Linked DNA regions of Homo sapiens: regions 1 and 2 are each linked to region 3. The links are contacts of gene promoters, found by promoter capture Hi-C in blood cells and fetal thymus (Javierre and others, 2016). All regions are on one chromosome and are shown on one strand. Each heading gives the region's core, a stretch centred on a gene start or on the middle of the fragment in contact. The rest is flanking DNA. Distances are from core to core; before and after follow the strand shown.

The links. The method cuts DNA at HindIII sites, captures the fragments that hold promoters and counts their contacts. A CHiCAGO score of 5 or more calls a contact.
Region 1: a fragment that was not itself captured here is called in contact with the fragment with the promoter of WNT6 in region 3 in 1 of 17 cell types (M2 macrophages); the score reaches 5.4 in M2 macrophages.
Region 2: a contact is called between a fragment that was not itself captured here and the fragment with the promoter of WNT6 in region 3, in 1 of 17 cell types (M0 macrophages). The highest score is 6.2, in M0 macrophages.

Annotation. Positions count from the first base shown.
Region 1 is chr2:219,122,257-219,124,956 of GRCh38, forward strand. The region is part of intron 5 of NHEJ1 (non-homologous end joining factor 1); the gene reads right to left. Among named protein-coding and RNA genes, the nearest start is that of NHEJ1, 37 kb to the right of the region's middle. The HindIII fragment of the contact is 1,259 bases long and covers 809-2,067 here.
Region 2 is chr2:219,142,673-219,145,372 of GRCh38, forward strand. All of the region lies in intron 5 of NHEJ1 (non-homologous end joining factor 1), which reads right to left. Among named protein-coding and RNA genes, the nearest start is that of NHEJ1, 17 kb to the right of the region's middle. The HindIII fragment of the contact is 4,364 bases long and covers 1-2,700 here.
Region 3 is chr2:218,858,417-218,861,116 of GRCh38, forward strand. It overlaps WNT6 (Wnt family member 6), which reads left to right and starts at 1,389. Exons shown (of 4, transcript NM_006522.4): 1 at 1,389-1,701. The coding sequence starts at 1,622. The HindIII fragment of the contact is 26,174 bases long and covers 1-2,700 here.

The sequences.
Region 1 (2,700 bases), core at 188-2,687, 260 kb after region 3:
GGGGATCTTTCACTAATTTCCCCACCAGGGAATGACTTCCTCATCTGTCCTCACTGAGCACTTCATGTTTGTCTTTATTACAGCACTCTTACTTTGGTAAGATAAGTGTGTGTACACCTATCTATCTCATTTTCTGAGCCATATGCTTCTTGGGGGCAGGAATCATGTTAGTTATCTCTGTACCCTTGGCACAGTAAGTACTTAAATATGTTAGTTTCCTATCCCCCATAGTACTGGTACAAGAACCTAAACCCAGTGGTATTCAATAAATGCTGGATAAGGATGATAACATTAATAACAGCCATTCAGCACAACTCCACTAAGTTGTCAGACCAGTTTAGGATATTGGCATGAAAAATGCTTTTTCTCCTGGCCCAGACATTTACTCTTAAGATTTGCCTCCTCCTCAATAGACTCCAGGAAATAGGGTTAGTTTTAAGTTCTAGAAACTCTAATCATTCCTGTTTTCTCCAAACTAAGGGCCTGAAGGAAGACTGCAGATACCTCATGAATATTGATGAGCCTCTGCGGTCACATGAATATTAACAACACCCTGTGGCTTTCGGGAACAGCAGCCCAGCTAGAAGGTCTAATATTAACCTTGGCTAGGCCCAAAAAGTAGAAAGCGCATATGCCCATACATCCCCATGGGGAGTAAAGAGTGGATAGCGGAGGCCAGTTTGGAGCTTGGCCCCTATGCAAACACTGGGCACACAGGCAGTTAAGAAAGAACTAAACATTGTGTCCTACGTCCCTGGCACTGGGGGGCTCTGTTAGTAGCTACCCAGGCAGGAATCCCCAATTCTCAAGCTTTGGAGAAGTTAGGATGTAGAGGCTAAATCATACTCAATTCAGAAAAACACTGGTAGGGATACACTGACCTAGTTCAATAGCTACAGTAGAGGGGTAGGAAAGGTTGACAGTCAGATCACATAGGACAAAAACCAGAATCAAATTACAAGGCTCAATTAGGCAACAAAGACATATTTTGTAGATCACACATTAACAGTAAGTAAAGTTCTATAGACTGGAGTTTCCAGCCCCATACCCTCCCATGAGACTAGTGGACACAGAAAACAATGACTGAGACTTAAGCGGAAAGCTATTCTACGACTGATGCAGTGAGAGACAGAAGGAGTCAGAATCTTTTTCCACCTACAGATCCTCAACCCAGGAAACATCAGAAAGAATGATGATCATTATTAAAAACAAACAAAAACAACAAAACAAAAAGTACTGTGAATCAAAGTTAACCAAAGAAACCCATGTACGCCTAGCCCTGGGTCTAAGTTCAAAATCTACTTCTATGTCACATGACAGAACTATTAAAAGGAAAGGCAGGTTAAGTAACCCCATGCAGTGGCTGGAATTAATGCTAATAAGATTCCTGCTGTACTCATCCACCAAGACAGACTACATTTAAAACTAGAAAAGTGCGTCTTTACTCCTCTAGCCTGATCCTACTCAAAGGCCTTCACCCCTTAGCTCTGCCTGAAAAGCTGATCCGACCCCCTTTACCCACACTCAAGAGGAACAGAGAGGCCTGTAGGCCTAGCCCAAGCTGAGGTGGTGAGAGGCCACACCTAGGAAGAGGGTGGGGGCTACTCTCAGGCGCTGTGTTCTGTCACACAATTACCATATTATGTAGCTCTAATAAAAAGAAATACTTGAAGTTTTATTAGTGCCATATAATAAAGTATTTATAGAATCCTGGCGGTGGGGGCAGAGGTAGAGAGAGGGAGAAGGAAATAGGAGGAATCGAAATTGTTAGCAATAACCCTAGCAATGGCAGCCCCCAGCATTCGCCACCCTGGGTAAACCTCAAAGACTTCAGCCTGGGACATCAGGCCAGCTGTCATCAACCTAGATCAGCATGGCTTACTGTTCACTCCCTCTACAACAGTCCGTCTCTGACTTCTTCCTGGTTAACAAAGAAAGAGGTGAGGAACTGGGAGGAGTAGGGAAGAGGAATAAAGAATTGATATCAGCAAAACTGTGGAGCCTAGGCCTGAAAAGGCTGGGAAGCAGAGGAAAGCGGGCATCAGTTGAAAGAATGAGTGGAATGTAAGCTTTAAAAGGTTCCATTCTGGAGCTAAATTTGAGTTCTCACCATCCAGCATATCTGACCGTTTTGAAATTTGCCCAAACAGGGTTTTCCATTACTGCACTGGCCCCTTCTGCACACCTCTCATACACCCACTCCAACCACACTCTCTACTCACCACCACCACCACGAGAGGAGTGCACCCCACACCTACTCCAACCACATGACACACACCCACACCTTCTCCCACACCGCCCCTCCTCACACATGGTCCTCACAGCCACAGTGCACACACATACAACACACTCACCACAGCACACTCCTTCTTAAGGCTACCAGCTGCCTGCATTTCCTGGGCATCTTCCCAACTTAAGACACATCCTAGATAAAAACATTTTCGGAGTCTACAACACTCTTTAACATTTTAAAATTTTCTATTACCCAGAAAATCTCCCCAAAGAGAGAGAGAAGTGAGGGCTGTGACATTATTACAGAGAAGACTATAAACAGAACAAATATAGTGCTGCTTTATTACAAGGCAGTGTGGGGTTGGTGGCTGGCTGATTACAGGGCCACTCCCCAGAGCTCTCTGCAGTCCCAGACCTCAATAAAGGCCAGACTTGAGCTGCCTTCAACTGAGGGGCCCCCTTCAGATT
Region 2 (2,700 bases), core at 160-2,659, 280 kb after region 3:
TTCCTTTTTCATATAGTTCCTACTGCCGTGTAACAACAGTCCCTAAGTCCCTGACTCTTCTTTCACTCCTAAAGATGCCTCTCAACCCCCAGTCCTACAAAATGCCCTATATAGGGTTCTTGGCCTCCATGAAGATCATGCCAACAGGCATCCCACCCAGGCTTGACTTGAGTCAATATTGTCAGTATCACCCTCTAGTTAGGCCACTATCAACTGGCTCCTTGGGTTCCCCAGAATTGAGAAATCAGAGGCTCTTAGACAGAGTGGAAAAACAAAAGGACCAAATAGGGAGAAGTAACCCCTGTTCAATTCTTATTTTCCCGAGCCTTAGTATCCTAGCCACCTGCCTGGCCTACTGTCCCCTGTGCCTTATTGTCTATAGCCTCTTGCCTAGTAATAATCCCAATGAGAATTTTAAAAACTGACCCCAGGCAATGACCGCATGGCCCTCTGACACCAGCCCTGGCCCCCCTGCGCCTTCATCTTGAGCTCTCTCCCTGGTTTGTTTATCTTCCTATTCCATCTTGCTTATTTTGATGGCACATCCTTTCAGTTCAGTCTTGGGTGACCCCATGACCCTTCTGTGTCCTGTTTGTAGGACCCCGGGCAAGCAGAGTAACTAAAAAGATGCAGTAGTCATAAGAAGTTCTACAGCCCCAGTAGGAAACCTTTCAGTTCCAGCAGCTATACAGGACATTCTGAGGACAGTGCAATGACCCCAGAGGTCACAAGAATTCCATATTACCCCAGCCCTTATGTCTCCCCTAACAGGTGTGTACAACCAGTTAAACTAGCAAAACAAAACAGGGATAATCCTAGACTATGTGTCAAGAAATGTGAGAAGTCCTAAACATAAAGCTACAGCTATATGACCTTAGGCAAGTCACTTAACCTCTCTGAGGCTCAACTTCTTCATCTATAAAATAGAAAGCTGTAACTACAACTACCTATCTCTCACTTCCTTTCCAGATATAATAAAATTCTACAAGTCTATGAGGTTGATCCACCCAGAACCTACAGGACCAGTATTCTTGAAGTAGCTGGTTCCAAAACACTGATACTCTTCCTGTGCTGCCACCTAAATTCTGTATGCTTTCTCATTCAATTCCGCAGGGCTCCTCCCAACCCCATAGTATGAAAACGATGAGCCTCTAATTTTATAAATGAGAAGTGATTTATCCAAAGCTGCAAAATGAGCCATGAGAATAACTGAAGACCCCAAATATAGGTCTAATAAGCAACACTGAGCCAGGTGCAGTGGCTCACGCCTGTAATCTCAGCACTTTGAAAGGCCAAGGTGGGCGGACCACATGAGGCCAGGCATTCAAAACCAGCCTGGCCAACATGGTAAAACCCTGTCTCTACTAAAACTACAAAAATTAGCCAGGTGTGGTGGTGCATACCTGTAATCCCAGCTACTCAGGAGGCTGAGGCACAAGAATCTCTTGAACCCGGGAGGCAGAGATTACAGTGAGCCGAGATCACCCCACTGCACTCCAGCCAAAAAAAAGCAACACTGTATCCACAGGCCACAGTGTCATAATCTGTATAAAATCCCCCTAGCATAGACTTATCAAAATATTAATCCAAACTTATTGAAGACTTACTACCTGTAGGCACCACGCACAGTGCTGGGGATATAGAAATGCATTCAGCATGGTCCTTGCCTCAAAGAGTCCACAGATCAGTGGAGGAGAAAGCCATAGTCTTGCAGGCATACAAACAGTAATATTACAATGTTATAAGTGGTAAAACAGAGGTATAATCCAAGGTACTATAGTAGCAGGGAAGAAGAATAGTCTTTACAAGCAGAGTACAGAACGGTCTCCCAAACAAGGTGAAGCTGACATCTAGAAGATTAATAGAAGTTTGCAAGTTAGATAAGGCCAGAACATTGGACATTCTAGATCATGGGAAGAATGTGTATCTAAAGACAAGATGAAACAGCATTGGGGCAAATTAAAAGTCATTCCATATAGCTAAGGCATAAAGTACACAGAGAAAAATGTCAAGAAGTCAAGCTGGAGAGGTATGCAGGCACTAGATCAGGAAGAGACCTCTCTACTGAGCTAAGAACAAGCCTTGCATTGTTTAACTAAGGGGATGAGGCAGGGAACCAGCATGTTATCCCCAGCCTTGATACCTAAACTTATAGACAGGGGAAGCTATCTAAGAGAAAAACGGCCTAAGAAATCTCTCTTAGTCACAAGTTTAGGTTTAACGGTCTCTCTTTACCCATAAAAACTTGAAACCTTTTCTAGGCTAGGCATGGTGGCTCACATCTATAATCCCAGTACTTTGGGAGGTCAAGGAGGGTGGATCACTTGAGGCCAGGAGTTCAAGACCAGCCTGATCAACATGGCGAAACCCCGTTTCTACTAAAAATACAAAAATTAGCTGGGTGTGGTGGTGCGCACCTGTAATCCCAGCTACTTGGAAGGCTGAGGCAGGAGAATTGCTTGAACCTGGGAAAGGGATGTTGCAGTGAGCCAAGATTGTGCCATGGCACTCCAGTCTGGGTGACAGAGCAAGTGAGGCTTCGTTTCAAAAACAACAACAACAACAACAACAACAACAAAAAGACTTGAAACCTTTTCTCTTTCAGGACTTAGCAATACAAGTTTTCCTTCTTCTTCAGACTTACAATTGCTTCAGTACCTGGACTGAGCACCTACCTCACATTTTTTGCTTTTAGTGTTT
Region 3 (2,700 bases), core at 139-2,638:
ATCCCTTGGCCCCTTGGCCTCATCTTGATCTACTTGTCCCCCCTCTCTGGGTGACTCAGGATCTTGTCTTCTCTCTCTGCTCACCAAGGTTGTTTGGAAGTGACCTCAGTCATCACTCTCTTGGAAGCGACCTCAGTCCCCACATTCAGGTCCCCCTCTCTACCAACAACCAGGAGCTTTCTTCTGGGCGCCTGACGTTTCTGCCATAGGGACTCGATCTGTCCTCCCCACTCCAGGACAGCTTTAAAGGTTGATGGTTGCTCTTGATGGTATGGCAGGGAGAATGTCCCACACCACCTGTCCCTTGGCACCCCGGGGCACGTCGGGGACGGGAGGGGCAGGGGCTGCTGCCCACTGCCAGCCGAATGGCATGATGAATGGAGCTGTCCCTCTTCCCCACGGAGCCTTTGATCTCCCCCTCGTGGGGAGGGGGCCAGGGGCATCAAAGACATTTTTGTGGCATTAGAAAATCTGATAAACGCCATCTCACCTGCAGCTGGCTCTCCCACCCCTTCTACCCGGGCCAGGTTGGGGGAGGAACTCGAGGCAGGGACTCTTGGACACGCGAGGCCGGGCTAAAGCGAATTCTGACCCCTCGATCTCTTGAAAGTCTGCGACCTCCATTCTCCCGCTCGCTTACAAGTGCCAGCGCTTGCGCGCACGCCCTGGAGCGGCTACTCTTGCCCTCTCATTTCCCCCACCTCCCCGCCCTAGAACGCGGGCTTGAGAGGTGGGATGGCTGGGGGAGCGAGAGCGGAGGCCCAGGGCTTCCTCCCTTCTTCAAGGAGAGGCTGACGAAGGGGCATGAGGCATCGAACAGGGACACGGAAAGAGATGACCCCTCCAGCATCCGCCTGTCGGGCGGTCCAGTTTGACAACCCTCGCCGAAGCACCCCGCGCCCCAGGCCAACTTCCTCTCTTGCCTCCGCGCCAGCATCTCCCTCCGCACCGCCCCCCGCCCCAAACTCCCTCATTCCTGGGAAGTTTTCTCTCTTTACAGTCAACAAACCTGTCAAACGTCTCCCTTCCAGCCCGTCCCCCATTCCTCAGCTCCTCTTTCTCCCCCCTCACCCCTCTCTACTCTTCTTCCCAGCCCTTCCTTGCCCCCGACTCCAGGCGGCCGCGAGCGGCGGGGGGCTCCAAGTCCGAGAGAGGCGAGGCGAGGGGGCGAAGCGGGCGGGTCCCACAGCCCGAAGCGCGCTGGGGCCCCGCCCCGGCACCCCGCTCCCGCCCTCCGCTGCGCTCCGCGCCAGCCGCCCCGGGGCGCACGGCTCGCTCCCGAGAGTCCCGCTGCCTGACTGTCGCAACTGCCACCTCCCTCCGGCCCCCTGCCCCCCGCCCCCGCCTCGGCCCCGCTCCCCTCCCACCTCCGCCCCCGGCTCTGATTTCTTCTCCCGAGCGAGCTCCGCAGGAGACACAGGCGCTGGCTGCCCCGTCCGCTCTCCGCCTCCGCCGCGCCCTCCTCGCCCGGGATGGGCCCCCCCGCCGCCGCCGGATCCCTCGCCTCCCGGCCGCCGCCGTTGCGCTCGCCGCGCTCGCACTGAAGCCCGGGCCCTCGCGCGCCGCGGTTCGCCCCGCAGCCTCGCCCCCTGCCCACCCGGGCGGCCGTAGGGCGGTCACGATGCTGCCGCCCTTACCCTCCCGCCTCGGGCTGCTGCTGCTGCTGCTCCTGTGCCCGGCGCACGTCGGCGGACTGTGGTGGTGAGTCCGGCTGTCCTGGCGCGGCTCTGGACCCTGGAGGGTGGGGACCCCGGGACCCAGGACAGACTGGGGTGTTCCGCAGCCTCCCGGCTCTACCTGCTCTCCGAGCCCAGCTTTCTGGCCTCGGCCGGGGGCGTTTCTGAACTCCACTTCGACGTTCCTAACCCTCGGGAACATTCTATTGTGTTTCCTCCTCCCGGGTTCTCTCCCACCCCCCGCCAAGTTATGCGCTCACCCAGCTCACCAAGGAACAGGCGAGTGGGTAGGAAAGATCTTTCGGGAAGACACATATCCGAGGAAAAGAATGTGTGAGGAGGGCCCTGGATTCAGGGTATGGGGCTGGATTTGGAGAAGACAGGAACAAGGTGGGAAGCCACAAGGCAGAGAGGGCCACACAGCTGCCCCTTCCCCGCCCTGCTTTGCCTACCAACCCACCGGCTTCTCTCTGGGCTCCTGAGGAGTGGGCCTTAGTGACGACAGAGGGAATATAAAGGGGAAAGTGAGTCAGGACCCTGGTTTTCTCTACCTCGTCCTCCCCAAGCAAGGAAAAGGAGGAGCGGAAGGAACCGGACCCAGGCGCCCGGCCCTTCCAGACCTGGGGGTCATGAATGAAAAAATATGTGCAGCCCGGGAGATACGGGACCGGGAGGGGTCCTGCGGGAAGGGAGAGGGGCCTGGCCAGCCAAGGGAAGGGGGCGTCTTCCCAGGCTTGGCCCTAGCTAGAAGGGACACCTAGGCAGCGAAGGTTGCGGGAGCTTCGAGCCTTGGGGGTGGGGGTGGGGCCGGGGCGGGGAAGGAGGGTGCCCGACCGGGACGGCTCAGAGATCCAGATCCAAAGGACTTTTTTCCCCCTAGGTCTCCAGAGCCGCAAACCCTCGCCCGGAATAGCTCAGTGTTTAGAGAGGAGAGACTTGGACAATAACGCTGACGGGTTAGCCAATCCTAAGAAGGCAGGGTCGTGTCTATTTGCATATTGCCATGTGATTGGCTGGATGCCGA